Linked DNA regions of Homo sapiens: all the other regions are linked to region 1. Evidence: promoter capture Hi-C in 16 types of primary human blood cells and fetal thymus (Javierre and others, 2016). All regions are on one chromosome and are shown on one strand. The core of a region is centred on a gene start or on the middle of the fragment in contact, and the rest is flanking DNA. Distances in the headings are between cores, read along the strand shown. Region 1 holds the start of SENP1 (SUMO specific peptidase 1). Region 2 holds the start of DDX23 (DEAD-box helicase 23). Region 3 overlaps KANSL2 (KAT8 regulatory NSL complex subunit 2). Region 4 overlaps KANSL2 (KAT8 regulatory NSL complex subunit 2). Region 5 has its middle 28 kb from the start of SNORA2C.

Region 1 (2,904 bases), core at 105-2,604:
GTTCCAAAGCCGCAATGCAAGTCAACAACTGCATTCCCTTAGCCAGAAGTAGCAGAACCTGTTTTTGTACCCATCCACTCCCTCTAGACAACTCATTAGATGAGTGACATGAAGACCATCTTTGCAGTTGGGATAATTAATTGAAGTCAGTTAAAAATGAATAAGCCTTCCTAAAAGGGACTAGAGAGGAAAAATAAAGGGTGGTAGAGTGTAAACTGGAAGTAGGTTAAGGGATCATGCTTATAGAGATGCTTAAAGTTGCGCTTTAACTGTAATTTCAAAGTCAGGGTAATCTGTATTTCAACATGAGTCCTTAACACAAATTATTTTTATGAAGAATAAAGATTTAGGAGATGATGAGATCTAATACATCCAGAATAACCAATTATAACAAAGACCCTCAGTCAAATAGTTGGTAGTAGATAAAAGGCTTTATATGAATATTACAAGAATCACCACCACTCCAAATATAATAAGTGTACCAAATATGAAGTAAAATGACTTTAACAAGGCTGACTTGAAAGTGATAAAGAAGCAAGTTACTGCTAACAAGATAGTGGAAATACTGCACAGGCACCGATAAACAGAAATCACCAAGCTCAAGGAAAGAGAAACGAGGCATAGATCCAGAGATCACGTTAGGGTACACCAAGAAAGAGACGGTTCAAGGGAATTACCAGGAGGCGATGAGCCAGGTAAGCAAATTGTGGCAGTTAAGGGGATTTTCATAACCTGAGCAGGAGGGTCCAGACGTTTCTTTCTGATGGTGGCACTAGCGATATCACATCTCAGGGAGATACCACAGAGTAGGAGAGTTGGAGAAATGTTTACGTGAGACGCAGAAGTAGTCAAGAAATATCACTCGGGTCTCAAGGAAGGCGGGAGATGAAGCCGGTACCACAGAAAGCCGAGCTTCCCGGTGAAAACAGCTCTCCCCAGAGAAGACCCAGCTCTGGCGGGAAAGCCCCGGAATCGCAACCGGCCTTTCCCCAAGTACGGCTGGGCGCTGGGATGGGGCCTGCTGTAACGGCAGGGAGACGGTCTCTCCGCGGCCCAGGAGAGAGAGACCAGAAGGAACGGCCTCAGGTAGCCTAACGGCCACCGGCGGCCACAGCGCGGCCACCGGACAGCAGGGGGGAGGGGAGGTGGTCCCAGGGGGCGGGGCAGAGGAAAAGGCGCCGGCCCCACAGTGCTCCCCGCTTCCGCCCAGTCCAGCCCGGGCCGGCTGACCGGGTCCGACACAGTCTCCTGGACCAGGCTCCCTCCATCCTCACCCCTCCCCCAGCTTCCCGCCGCCACTCACCGAACCGGAACCGGCTGCCATGCGAAGGGGTTTCCGGCCGGGCGCGGAACGCAAAACCCGGGAACCGCCGCGAACCGGAACCGCCTTCACAGCACCGGAAGAGTCGCTAGGTGGCTGAAGAGGAGGGGGCTGGGGCAGGAGGTCAAAGAACAGAGTTAAGGACCAGTGGGGCGCCTGCGCGGTGTGGCGAGGCCCGAGAAGCGAAGGGAGCATTTAAGACTAGTCGTAATTTCTCAGTACCCTTTTCAGTCTGGGCTTTTTCGCTTTCTCGTACTCGGAATACTGTTAGTGAGCCCTTCGTCCTATGCTTTTCTCTGTTCCCTCTGCTCCCTTACCCGCCGCCTTCTGGTTCCGCCCGGCGAGTTTTGCTTGCTTGCGTTCCAGTTTCCATGGCAGCTTTTCGCGGTGGCCCTAAATCTGCGGAAACCTGTGGCTTCCCCCGACAGATAGGGACCTGAGATCTAAATCGATCTCAGGCTATCTCGTGTTTTATTGAGAATCACAGAACGTTAGTGCTTGTAGAGGTTATTGGAGATACTTTAGTCTTACCAGGTTCAGAGAAGTGAAGTGATTTCCCAAAGGTTTTAAGTGCACGGCCCATCTAGGACTAGGAAACAAGTTTCTTAACTTGCAATCCTGTACTCTGCACCACCTCATACTTGATTGACCATTCAGCAAGCAAACAAACAAACAAACAAGCAACTTGAGGACGGATTAGGCTAGACTCTGGCAAGATGTAGAACCTTCCAGAACTCTGGAGGAATTTGAAACAGGCAGAGCTGTGAGGAAAGCTTTTGGGAGCCCACTAGAGATCTGCTTTTCTGGGTAGAGATAGAGAAGGACCCAGGAATCACCTGTGACCTTTGAAGGGCTTTGTTGTTCCTGGGACACATTGATTAACCTGGAATCTGCCATACTTTCTAAGAGAACATAATGGGAAGAAATATGTTTGTTCATTCAGGCTTTTTGTCAAGCACCTCAGCTTGGCAGGCCTCTGGACCCAGGCCCTGTAGAAGTCTTAGAGAAATGCCCCCTTAATAGGTCCTTTACACCCAGATCACAGCCACAGGCACAGTCTGAGCTCAGACTTAAAGAAGGGCAGTTTCTGGAGGCCCCCAGCCTTTCTGATACTCTCAGCAGCTTGCTGAGTTCAGGGTTTCCTCCCCTGTCAAATACATCAAAGTAGATTATTTGTATTGCCTCATGTGCTGATACTTTTATATTATATTGTCAAGTCCTAAGGCCAAGTAGTCATGAGTGTAGCTGGTCCATGTCAGTCACTGACATCTTATTTCACAGCTCTGTTCGTTTGGATTAAACTCTGTCTCTATTTCTAGGAGGCAGCCATGCATAAAGACGAGTTTCATCTGAAATTTTTCATGTGTGTGATTCAGTCTCGCCAGTTAGTCAGGACTCCTCAGAGAACAGGTACCCTTGTCTCCTGATCATACTCCAGTGACAGAGAATGGGTTCTCTCACAAGAAGTCTAAATACAGGATGTGAGGCTTTCTAGTGTAAATACGGATTTTAGGGGTCAACTGACCTTGTTTATCACATTCTCACTTTGATAAAATATTGATCACTGAGTCGTGTATTTTCCA
Region 2 (2,904 bases), core at 253-2,752, 750 kb after region 1:
ACTGAAAAGAACTAGCAGCCAGTGAGAAAAGACAAAGAAAAGCATGGCAACGAAGAAGCCAAAAACATGTTTCAAGGAGGGAGGGGTCAACTGTGTCAAGTACCACCGAAGTGGAGAGGGAATAAGGGACAGGGAAGTAACCACTGAATTTGGAAAAATGGAGATTATTGGTGACCTTGACAAGAGCTGTTTCAGTTGCATTGCGGGAATGGAAGCCTGAGTGGAATGAGTTTGGAAGAGAATGAAAAATGAGAAGAAGACAGTAAATACAGGCAACTTTTATTACAGGTTCTATTATCACAAGGGCCAAATAACCAGGCTGACTCTGGCCATGCTTCCCAGCAGCCTTCCTCTCAAACCTCCAGATCTTCAGGTCCTCAGTTCTTGCAGGGCAGGGGCACATTCTTTTTTTTCACTCAATGACGTATTTAACAAGCATCTACTGTACGCAAGGCACAGTGCTAGGTGCTATGTGAGTTACAAAAATAAATTCTGTTCACAGGAAGTGTTTAGAACAACAGGGTTATGAGGTCGGACGCGGTGGCTCACGCATGTAATCCTAACACTTTAAGAGGCCGAGACAGGTGGATTGCCTGAGCTCAGGAGTTCGAGACCAGCCTGGGGAACACGGTGAAACCCCGTCTCTACTAAAAATACAAAAAATTAGCCGGGCGTGGCGGCGTGCGCCTGTAATCACAGCTACTCGGGAGGCTGAGACAGGAGAATCGCTTGAACCCGGGAGGCGGAGGTTGCAGAGAACCAAGATCGTGCCATTGCACTCCAGCCTAGGCGACAGAGCGAGACTCCGTCTCAAAAAAAAAAAGAAAAGAAAAGAAAAAAAAGAACAATAGGGGGTATGAGACACATACCAAGAAGAGTATCAAGGCTCAGATGTAGTAATACAGGTGTTCAAAGGCGTTTCCTTTCACTTGTAAAAGGTGATGTGGAAGGCTTGGAAGAGGAAGTGACGCTTGAGCTTTTAAGTATAAGTAGAATTTTAAGATATGTAATTAAGGACGCGGAAAAGAAGTCATTCCCGGCAAAAGAAATAATACGGCCGGCGCAGAGGCGGGAAAACATGGACTGACTGCGAGAGAAAAGCCAGAGTTCCAGTTTGGCTGCACCAAAGGCTACTTTAAGCATGAAAGAATAAGGTCAGACTGGGGGTATCAGAGGCGCTGTGCCCATAGGCAGAGTCCTGGGAGGAAAATATCGTGCAGGGACGTGGCCTGTGCCCGGAGGAGCCAACACTACCCCTGGGGCCCGCGCCCCTTCACTCCAGCCCGCCCGAGCTTCCCGGGTTCATGCCCCTTCTCTGAGGCGTTCTTTCCCGCCTCATCCAGGAGGCAGGGGCCACCGCCGTGCCCTGACTCTAGCCCTTTCTGTAAGCTCGTGGGAACCGCCTCCACCGCCCGGGACTCACCACCCTGAGTCTGAACCGCCCAACGCGGCCTCAACGTCGCGGAGCCGTCGCCATCTTTCCCGTTTCCTGGTCGCGGAGATGAACACCCCCCACCCCCCCGGCCGCGAGGCAAGCTGGGAAGGCGAGTTCCTGGAGCTGGGCGGCACAGGCCGACACTGAGGCCTGGAAACTACCAATCCCAGAATGCATGACTTGAGCGCCGGCCCCAGGCTGCGGGGTCTGCCGGGCAATGTGGTTTGCCAGACGTTAGCGTCCGGGAAGGAAGAGTTTTTCGCCAATAGGCTTTCGGCATTAGGTTCTCCCGCCGAGCACCCTTCTTGGAATCGGCTGGTCTTCCTAGAAACTACGGTCTATGACTGTCCTTGCCCGTGGCTTACAGTGGAGGAATTTAAGGGCTTCCTGAGATATCTGTAGTACGTAATTATAGCTAACAACCGCAGTAACAATAAATACCATTCGTGGAAAAGCGGTTTTTATAATAATTCTGTGAGAATGGGGCTAGCCCCATTTTACAGTTGGACAAACTAAAGATCAGGTTACCGGAGTAGGTTCACAAGGAGGGTGATGCAGTTCTCCATTGTGTGTGGAACTATCCCAGGCTTAGGAGGACGTTTTAGCAACCTTGGCCCCTGCAGCCGGGTGAATGCCATAACAACCCCCAGTTATTGTTACAGCTCCAAATGAGCCCACACAATGGGCTCTAAAGTCCTCCCGGAAGGATGGTATCTCCTGGGCTCTAGCACCTGTTTTCTCAACATTCCAGATGGAACCCTGGTTTCCTCAATTTCTTGCCCTTTGGAATGTGACCAATTGTTGAGCTATCTTGGTATTTTTGCTTCTTTCTTCCCCCAGATTCCCCTACTTCAGTCTTCCACTGAGTTTTGTTGTTGCTGTTGTTGTTGTTGTTGATGTTGTTGTTGTTGTTTTAACCTCAAATCGTAAGTTCACTTTGTGTTTCTCTTTGGTCTTATGGGTTCATAACTCTTTCCCTCAAAACAAAACAAAACATTGCAGTTGCGGAAACGGTTTAGATAACCAGAAGTATCTCGGACCTCCCTTCCCATTTTGCCAGCAGCAGGTTTGTTGCTTCAATTCCACATGGCTGTAGGTCTGCCTTTTCTCTCTGAATATGCCCAAGCTCTCAAGCAGAGCCTCAGGATAGACCCAAGTAATCCTAAAGCCCTGAGCATCACGTACAATGGCCCAAAGTAACCCTCGGAGACACACACTTCTCTTAGAACCTGCAGCCTTTCACCTCCCAGCTTCTACTCCAGAGAGAACGCAAGGGAAAGAAGAGAGCTCTGAGATCTGTTAGGTGTAATTCACCACAAAAGCACGAGAGGGCGCTCGACTCACAGATTCACAGATTAAACTAAGAATCAGACCAACCATGGTAGGCCAGAATCTTCAAAAACTGCAGCCACTTTTTATTGAGAATCTTCTAAGTGCTCAGCTCTGGGCTGGACACTTAACCTACCTTA
Region 3 (2,904 bases), core at 282-2,781, 570 kb after region 1:
GTTTATAGAGGTCATATGATACAATTATTATTTAAAAAAGGGAAATGAAAATTTAACAATTACCTTAAGGATAAAATTTCTTAAGTATTAGATGTTGTAGACAAGCTTTTATTTATTTTTTCTGTGTGTATGAGATAGGGTCTCCCTCTGTTGCCCAGACTGGAATGCAGTGGCACGATCACAGAGCCTCAACCTCCCAGGCTCAAGCCATCCTCCTACTTGAGCCTCTCGAGTAGTTAAGACTACAGACCACGTGCACCACCACGTCTGGCTAATTTTTAAATCTTTCGTAGAGACGGTGTCTCCCTATGTTGCCCAGGCTGGTCTCGAACTCCTGGGCTCAAGCAATCCTCCCACCTCGACCTCCCAAAGTGCTAGGATCACTGGGCGCACTGGTTCGTCCCTGTAATCCCAGCACTTTGGGAGGCTGACGGGCAGATCACCTCAGATCAGGAGTTCAAGACCAGCCTGCCAACATGGAGAAACCCCGTCTCTACTAAAAACACAAAAATCAGCTGGGTGTGGTGGCGGGCACCTGTAATCCCAGCTACTCGGGAGGCTGAGGCAGGAAAATCATTTGAACCCGGGAGGCGGAGGTTGCAGTGAGCTGAGATCGCACCATTGCACTCCAGCCTGGGTGACAAGAGTGAAACTTCGTGTCAAAAAAAAAAAGTGCGAGGATTACATGCGTAAGTCACTACGCCTGGCCATAAACAAGCTTTACTTTTAACAAAACAATTAAGTAAGTGGTTACTTTGAGGGAAATCATATATATACTAACAGGAAGTTTAAAAAATCTATGCCAACAATATTCTAGTTAGGATCAAGTCTCTAGCAACATCATAAACAATATAAAATTGCCCTTTGTGTAACAAGCAATTGAAGATAAATGTGGTTAAACTATTAGATGATTCAAAAAGTGATCCTATTGATGACAAAGACACTGGTGCCCTAAGATAAAAATTCTTAATGAAAAGAATTTTACTCAGTGGACATACTACTAAATTACTATATTATTAAATATAAGAAGATAGTAATATGTAATCATAAGGAGACACTGAACAACTCTATTTACATGCCTAAAAATGCATAAATTTAGTGGGTCTAAATTTTTTTAAAAAATAATCTCACTGAGGAAAATTAACGAAAGCCTTATACTTAGTTGCCTAATAGCTGACCATATTTGGGGCTTTATTTTCTCTTCTGAACATGTTTCCTCTAGGAGAGAGTGACATCAACTGCCTAGTACTTTCCACATTTGTATTTCTCATAAAATGACCTGGTATTTTGGTTTATACAGCAGCCTCCTGTAAGTTAAATCAGCATCCATGTGCCTCCTAGAGACTGATCCACTCTAGATTACTAACAAAATCAAGTTTCTCGACCTTAAGCTGAGTGTTTACCACACCAAACGACACTCCCTTTGTAACCCTAGAGAGCATACATCTCTTCAAAGCAGCAAGTTTGGCCATCTAGAACCACAATGGAAAAAAAAGGAATGAAGCTGGGCCTGATGGCTCATGCCTGTAATCCCAGCACTTTGGGAGGCCGAGGCAGGTGAATCACGAGGTCAGGAATTCGAGACCAGCCTGGCCAACATGGTGAAACCCCATCTCTACTAAAAATACAAAAAATTACCTGGGTGTGGTGGTGGGTGCCTATAATCCCAGCTACTTGGGAGGGAGGCTGAGGCAGGAGAATTGCTTGAACCTGGGAGGCGGAGGTTGCAGTGAACTGAGATCATGCCACTGCACTCCAGCCTGGGTGACAGTGCAAGACTCCATCTCAAAAAAAAAAAAAAAAAAAAAAAAAAGGAATGAATATGTTGGTTTAAGTTACTATTTGTGAGAGAATCCTGCAAGAGAACAGTCATTCCCTTTCCAACTACTTAGATGGGTTTTCTAAACTAGTACTTCCTGAATAGTTGACCACAGTGAGATTACTCAATAGAAATGGATGAAATTATTCTACTCAGAAAACGTAACCCTAACATACGGCCATACTATCCGGAACATGCCCAACCTCCTCTGATCTCAGAAGCTAAGCAGGGTCAGGAGAAAATGTAACCCTAAATGACTTCTTATAAACCAAAGAATCCAAAGTAATGAAGAAAATGCTATTGCAAGAACAAAAGCCCAATAGTCAATCTAGAAATTACCCCTTCCACTATTTACAGTCCCTTTACATAAACTGTCAGTACAAAGTGTTAAGACACAGAAGTCAGCAGGCAAACATTTTTAAAAACTACACCCAGACCTTGAGACACAGAAATATGAGACTCCAGAGTGGTAATGTTTTTATGCTTCTACAACTCCTACGGTGATGATGGGTTAAGTGAAGAGCAGAAGCTTACTAAGATATAAACCTGATTAAGATATAATCACTTTTGGGTTTCTAAATCGGTTTCTCTTTCTTAGGCATGAAACCAAACTCTTGAATACCTTTTTATTCTTCTTTTTAAAAAAAAAATCCACACACAAAAAAACACTAAATGCTTGAGCTGATGAATATGCTAATTACCCTGATTTGATCATGACACAAGGTTTACAAGTATCCAAACATCACACTGTACCCCATACATTGTACAATTGTCAATTTAAAACAATATATAACTTTAAAAAATTTATAAATCCCATAAACACGACATTTTGCAGAAGTATTCAACTACAATCACATTATTCCTGAGGTTTAGGCCAAGCACCCATTCACAACCATTTTCTCTTCTCTAAACTGGTCTGACCATTTCTCAATCCACCTCCCACACTCCCATGTCTAAATTTCCTGTTTTCTCCCCTATACTTTCTCATACGTAGAATTTGGTGTTCAAACTTTTTTTAAATTACAAGGCTTCTAAAAAAGAATCATCCTGCCTTGAAGCAAGACGACAATGAACCATGCCACTTT
Region 4 (2,904 bases), core at 140-2,639, 550 kb after region 1:
CTGGGCGACAGACCAAGACTCCGTCTCAAAAAATAAATAAAGATAAAATAAGAGAATCCACGTTTTGTTACTATCTCCAAAACCAGCAATAGAGAATGAGAGAGAAGGAACTCAAAAGTAGTAAGATTAAGGTGTTAAGTTACTACTTGCCAACCATCCTTGCATCAAAGCACAGAAAACAAGCAAATATCCAGAATGAACGGCTGTGTTTTTACTCATATTAATATCTGATGCCTAGTCTTCCCGCAAGTAAAATCACCAAAGTTATCATTAACAGTTATACGCCAGGAATGGTGAATCATGCCTATAATCCCAGCACTTTGGGAGGCCAAGGTGGGTGGGTCACTTGAGGCCAGGAGTTAGAGACCAGCCTGGCCAACATGGTGAAACCCTGTCTCTACAAAAAATACAAAAATCAGCAAGGCCTGCTGGCGCACACCTGTAGTCCCAGCTACCCAGGAGGGTGAAGCACAAGAATCACTTGAACCCTGAAGGCAGAGGCTGCAGTGAGCTGAGATCACATCACTGCACTCCAGCTTGAACAACAGAACAAGACTCAGTCTAAAAAAAAAAAAGCCAAGTTATAGTGGCCAGGCACAGTGGTTCACACTTGTAATCCCAGCACTTTGGGAGGCCAAGGTAAGAGGATCACTTGAGGCCAAGGTAAGAGGATCACTTGAGCCTAGGAGTTGAAGACCAGCCCATGCAACATAGGGAGATCTCATCTATACAAAAAATAAAAAATTGGCTGGGCATGGTGGCATAAACCTATAGTCCCAGCTACTTGGGAGGCTGAGACAGGAGGATCACTTAAGCCCAGGAGTTCGAGGCTGCACGGAGCCATGATCATGCCACTGCACTCCAGCCTGAGCAACAGAGCAAGACCCCAATTTAAAAAAAAAAAAGTTATAAAAATGATAACTAAGCTGGGCGTGGTGGCTCATGCCACCGACAGAAACTCTGTCTCAAAAGTTCTTAACAGTATATTCCTTAATAGCCAGAAAGTAGAAACAGCACAAATATCCATCAACTGATATATTTTTAAAGCGTGGTATTTCCAAACAATGGAATATTAATTCAGTCACAAAAAGGAATGAAGTATTGATACATATTATAGTATGGATAAACCTTGAAAACATTATGCTAAGTGAAACAAGCAAGACACAAAAGGATACATATACTATTACATTGATATGAAATGTCCAGAATAAGCAAAATCAGAGACAAAAAGTAGATTCATCGTGGCCAGGGGCTGAGGGGAGAAGAAAATGAAGAGTGTCATAATAGGTACTGAGTTTCTTTTGGAGATGGTGAAAACCTTCTGAAATTAGATAGTGGTGGTAGTTGCGTAACTTTGCGAATATACTAAAAATCACTCAATTATACACTTTCAAAGAGTGCAATTTATAGTATGTAAATTGTATCCCTAAAAAGGTATGGGAAGAGTCTGGAAAAAAATATAAGGTAGGGTAGATTTCTCTAAATGAATATGCTAACATATAAATACAACTATACGTATATATCACTTCAAAAACTTTGTCGATTCTCCTAACCACAAAGACTAACCTATTCTCACCATTAATAAATAAGGCTTTGTCTCAAGGGCCTGAACCAAAGCAGAGCTTCTCTAACTTACATCACTGAACTCCAGAGGTAAACTCTCAGTGGGCTGAAGCTCAGCAGCACTCAAGTACAGATCCATGGGGCCGGCTTCCAGATCGTCTGGCACAGACAGTACCTGCTCGGGCTTATACATCTGAGGAGGCAACTGGAAATGCAGTGGGCAGCAGGGATCCTCAGAGAGGCTTACAGGAACAGGTTTGTTGCAGGGTACCTCTTCAGATCCCTGGCAGCACTTGAAGAGAACCTGATTCGTATCCTGACAAATATCTGTAGAAAAATGGTCAAGGGAAATAAAACACAATCTATCGAAAGCATAAAATACAAATAGCATTGTCTGCCACATAAAACTCAAGGTGTGGACTATATAAGATAAATTACAACTACATTTGATACAGAATACCAAATGCAGTTAGCAATTTTTAAAGTTACTTCTCAAAATAAATGTCATTTACTAGCATCAAATTCTAGCTCTACCAGTAATTTAAAACTTGTCCCCAACCTCCTTTTCAGGATCCTGGTCATTTAAACTAGACACCATCCCATTCTCCCTTAAGCAAGTAGCAGTAACACTCCTAGGAACACACACATATTCAGAAGAAACATGTAGTGGCAAATGCAAATAGCCTTGAAAATGCCCCTAAACAGCCCTTCCAAAAGAGTCAAGCGATACAATGTCTCTGCTCCCTTAGCAGACTGGCAAAGTTTGCAACAATTTCTTGGACCTCGTTTCCAAAGATGATTACATGATAAATTCATTTAAAGCACCACTGGAATAGGGGGAAACAGAGCTCTAGTAAAAGTCACTAGGTATCATATCCTAACAAGAAATTAAATATACATGCCTTTTTTTTTTAGGGGAGTGTGCTAGTACAGAGGAATCCTTTTATGATCCTAAAGGAAGAAGAAAATTTTGTGTATGAAGGCCCATTGAAAAAAAAAAGTATTCTAGAAACATTCCAAGGACTCTATTAACAACTTTTGTTAAAGGTAGAAGAAGAAAAGGGCTATATTTCCAAGTTAGCAAAGAAGCTCTGTAGGATGAACCAAAATTGAGATGATTAGATACAATAAAATTCAAGTTACTTTACAAAACACATTTTATGCAAGTGCTACCATTTCTTGAAATCTGTTAACTACCTGGTTATCTTCCTAGATTAATAAACATTATTTTAAAATTTGACTTATTTTTAACCAGAAAACACAATTTTTCTTAAACTGATAGTACCTGAATTATGGAGTTATAATTTTCAACTCAAAACTTTTATGGTAATTTTTTTAAAT
Region 5 (2,904 bases), core at 276-2,775, 520 kb after region 1:
AGTCTCTCAAATATTTGAAAACAGTTATCATATTCTTCTATTCATTTTGTCTTTTCCAGATTCTCTACATTCTTCATCTATTCCTTGTATTTCACAGTTTTCAAGCCCTAATTCATGATACTCAGGCCGGGTGCGGTGGCTCACGCCTGTAATCCCAGCACTCTGGAAGGCCGAGGCGGGCAGATCACGAGGTCAGGAGATGGAGACCATCCTGGCTAACACGGTGAAACCCCGTCTCTACTGAAAATACAAAAAAGTAGCCGGGCTCGGTGTTGGGCACCTGCAGTTCCAGCTGCTTGGGAGGCTGAGGCAGGAGAATCAGTTGAGCCTGGGAGGTGGAGGTTGCAGTGAGCTGAAATCATAACCCTGCACTCTAGCCTGGGCGACAGAGCCAGAATCCATCTCAAAAAAAAAAAAAAAGAAAAAATTCATGATAGTCAACAAAAAGCCCAAATTATTTTCACATAATTGGCTACTAAGTTGGGTCTTACCCTTCCTATGCTTGTGTAACCGGTTGTTAAAATCTACATGCAGATTTTATATGTGCCTCTGTTAAATTCCGTCTTGTTTTTAGTTTGGCATTCCAAAAGGCAAGATTATTTTGAATTATAATTGTTGCTTACAATATTGATTTTCCCTCTTTGTTTCATATCATCTGAAGTTTGATGAGCCATGCATGCTTACTATGCCTATTGAAGTCATTGCTAAAATAGGTGACGAAGATAAGATCTACAACACATTCTCCTTTTCACTAGACAGATTTCTCCAGATTTTTAGTCATTAATGAATAATTTTGGTGTATGGTAGCCAAACTAAAAGCGTTATCTTTTTTCTTTTTTTCTTTTTTGAGACAGAGTCTCGTTCTGTCGCCCAGGCTGGAGTGCATTGGCACGATCTTGGCTCACTGCAACCTCCGCCTCCCAGGTTCACGCCATTCTCCTGCCTCAGCCTCCTGAGTAGCTGGGATTACAGGCGCACACCACCACACCTGGTTAATTTTTTGTGTATTTTTAGTAGAGACAGGGTTTCACTATGTTGGTCAGACTGGTCTTGAACTCCTGACCTCGTGATCCGCCTGCCTCGGCCTCCCAAAGTGGTGGGATTACAGGCGTGAGCCACTGCACCAGGCTAAAAAAGCGTTATCTCTAAGCACACAGTCATCATCTTTTTATGAAGCTTTACTGAGATTAACATGCCCTTTCTCTGCTCCTTTCTCCTGATTGTTAAATTATTAGTACTGTCAATAAAAGATATTATTATGAGGTTTTACATTAGGTTCAGCATTACAAAGATCCTGGTGATCCCTTATGGGACTTCCAACTATTCTACATAGCATCTATTTAGGAATTTTACCAGGAACCAAGGTCAAATTCATTGGTTGGCAAGGGCAGTGCTTCTAACTTTATAATCATAAGCATTGGCTCAGAGTGTAGACTTCAGAAGTTTCGGGTCAGTTGACTGGTTGGTTGATTTGGTTAGTTTAACTAGTTTCTTCCTTTGCTCCCTCTTTCTGCTAAACCCAGAGTCCTATTTCACTCTCAATTCAAGTCACTCCTTGGCTCTTTAAGAAATCATTAGTATATAGAAGACAGAATATGTTCAAATACATATGAAAGCATTCAGTTTGTTCCATGTCTGTATCCCCATATGACTGAATGTGGGTCTGCATGATGTAAGCCCAAAGCCAAAGGAAAACGTAGGATCAGGCCAGGAACAGAAAAACCCTGTGTTCTCACTGCCATCGGCTAATGTGAGATGTCGCCTTTCTTAACTTCAAAAGTGAGAAAACTATCACATTGGGCTTTCTGGTTTCTTCCTCCTACGCACACACATATTTTTGACTTCCATATCCATTCTTATTTATGATTCCATCCCAAGCTTCCAATATTCCCTCAACTGTAGGGGATGACCCAATGATTCCTCCTCTATTTTAGTAGTCATTTAAATGTCTCTTTGACTCTAGCGTTAACTGTCAGATGGTGCAATTTTTTCATGGCAATTTGCTTTTGGAAAATTATTGTAATGAATTCATATATTAATTTATTTATTCATTCCACAAAGTCTTCCTATGTGTTTGGTGGAAAGGTAGTGCTGCAATAACTGAGAGAAGGAAACCTACGCCAGAAGAGAAGTTTCTAAAGAACCCACAGTTAGTTAAGATAAACTGAGCATTTGACCTGTATGGAAAATACAAGGCAGGAGAACCAAGATAAATAGAGTGTTTCCAGTTTCCAACAAACTGATCGGAGACTGGGCAAAGTGTGGAAATGGCTTTACCAAGGGTCACCAGGCCACCTGTCCAAAGAGAAAGAGTGGTTTCCCAGGGGGGTGGGATCTGGGTTAATTCAGATCTTTCTGTGTTGCATATCTTGCTGAATAGATGATATAGATTGCTCATCTGGATTTCCAAGTCTCATTTTCTTGGAAAGAAAAAATAGTCTGAGATGAGTGGCAGCCTCAGGAACGTGCATGACTTCAGAGTAGGACCAACTCTCCTAGAGGCGATGCGCACGCCTCCTACCCTTCCACAGTTCACCAGCTGTGGTCCTCCTGTTGGTGCCCAGCCGGGACCTCCAGGTAAATAGCTCCCTGCGGATTGGAAGAACATTATGCTGCTCTCTAATTTTGACATTTCTATCACTTAAAAAACGTTTGGGGCCAGATGCAGTGGCTCACGCCTATAATCCCAGAACTTTGGGAGGATCGCTTGAGCGCAGAAATTTGAGACCAGCCTGGACGATATAGGGAGACTTCATTTCTGTTAAATTTTTTTTTAAGTAGCCAGGCATGGTGGCATGTGCTTGTAGTCCCAGCTACTTGGGAGGCTGAGGTGGGAGGATGGCTTGAGCCCAGGAAGTCGAGGCTGTAGTGAGCTGTGATCGCACCACTACACTCCTGCCTGGG

The links. The method cuts DNA at HindIII sites, captures the fragments that hold promoters and counts their contacts. A CHiCAGO score of 5 or more calls a contact.
Region 2: the fragment with the promoter of DDX23 here is called in contact with the fragment with the promoter of SENP1 in region 1 in 13 of 17 cell types (erythroblasts, neutrophils, M2 macrophages and 10 more); the score reaches 16.3 in erythroblasts.
Region 3: a fragment that was not itself captured here is called in contact with the fragment with the promoter of SENP1 in region 1 in 11 of 17 cell types (erythroblasts, M1 macrophages, M2 macrophages and 8 more); the score reaches 9.8 in erythroblasts.
Region 4: a fragment that was not itself captured here is called in contact with the fragment with the promoter of SENP1 in region 1 in 1 of 17 cell types (erythroblasts); the score reaches 6.1 in erythroblasts.
Region 5: a contact is called between a fragment that was not itself captured here and the fragment with the promoter of SENP1 in region 1, in 2 of 17 cell types (M1 macrophages and M0 macrophages). The highest score is 8.4, in M1 macrophages.

What each region holds. Positions count from the first base shown.
Region 1 is chr12:48,104,725-48,107,628 of GRCh38, forward strand. It overlaps SENP1 (SUMO specific peptidase 1), which reads right to left and starts at 1,355. Exons shown (of 18, transcript NM_001267594.2): 1 at 1,304-1,355. It also overlaps a transcript of PFKM not described here. RefSeq lists enhancers at 352-1,227, 733-942, 1,228-2,101 and a silencer at 1,083-1,222. The HindIII fragment of the contact is 3,654 bases long and covers 1-2,092 here.
Region 2 is chr12:48,850,661-48,853,564 of GRCh38, forward strand. It overlaps DDX23 (DEAD-box helicase 23), which reads right to left and starts at 1,503. Exons shown (of 17, transcript NM_004818.3): 1 at 1,424-1,503. LOC105369755 (a long non-coding RNA gene) reads left to right here and starts at 1,061. Exons shown (of 2, transcript XR_944925.3): 1 at 1,061-1,154; 2 at 1,390-1,889. RefSeq lists enhancers at 1,359-1,548, 2,428-2,637. The HindIII fragment of the contact is 5,632 bases long and covers 1-2,904 here.
Region 3 is chr12:48,675,998-48,678,901 of GRCh38, forward strand. All of the region lies in intron 4 of KANSL2 (KAT8 regulatory NSL complex subunit 2), which reads right to left. Among named protein-coding and RNA genes, the nearest start is that of KANSL2, 4.8 kb to the right of the region's middle. The HindIII fragment of the contact is 1,630 bases long and covers 717-2,346 here.
Region 4 is chr12:48,658,730-48,661,633 of GRCh38, forward strand. It overlaps KANSL2 (KAT8 regulatory NSL complex subunit 2), which reads right to left. Exons shown (of 10, transcript NM_017822.4): 8 at 1,637-1,890. Among named protein-coding and RNA genes, the nearest start is that of SNORA2A, 3.4 kb to the left of the region's middle. The HindIII fragment of the contact is 6,321 bases long and covers 1-2,904 here.
Region 5 is chr12:48,624,651-48,627,554 of GRCh38, forward strand. No RefSeq gene overlaps it. Among named protein-coding and RNA genes, the nearest start is that of SNORA2C, 28 kb to the right of the region's middle. The HindIII fragment of the contact is 702 bases long and covers 1,175-1,876 here.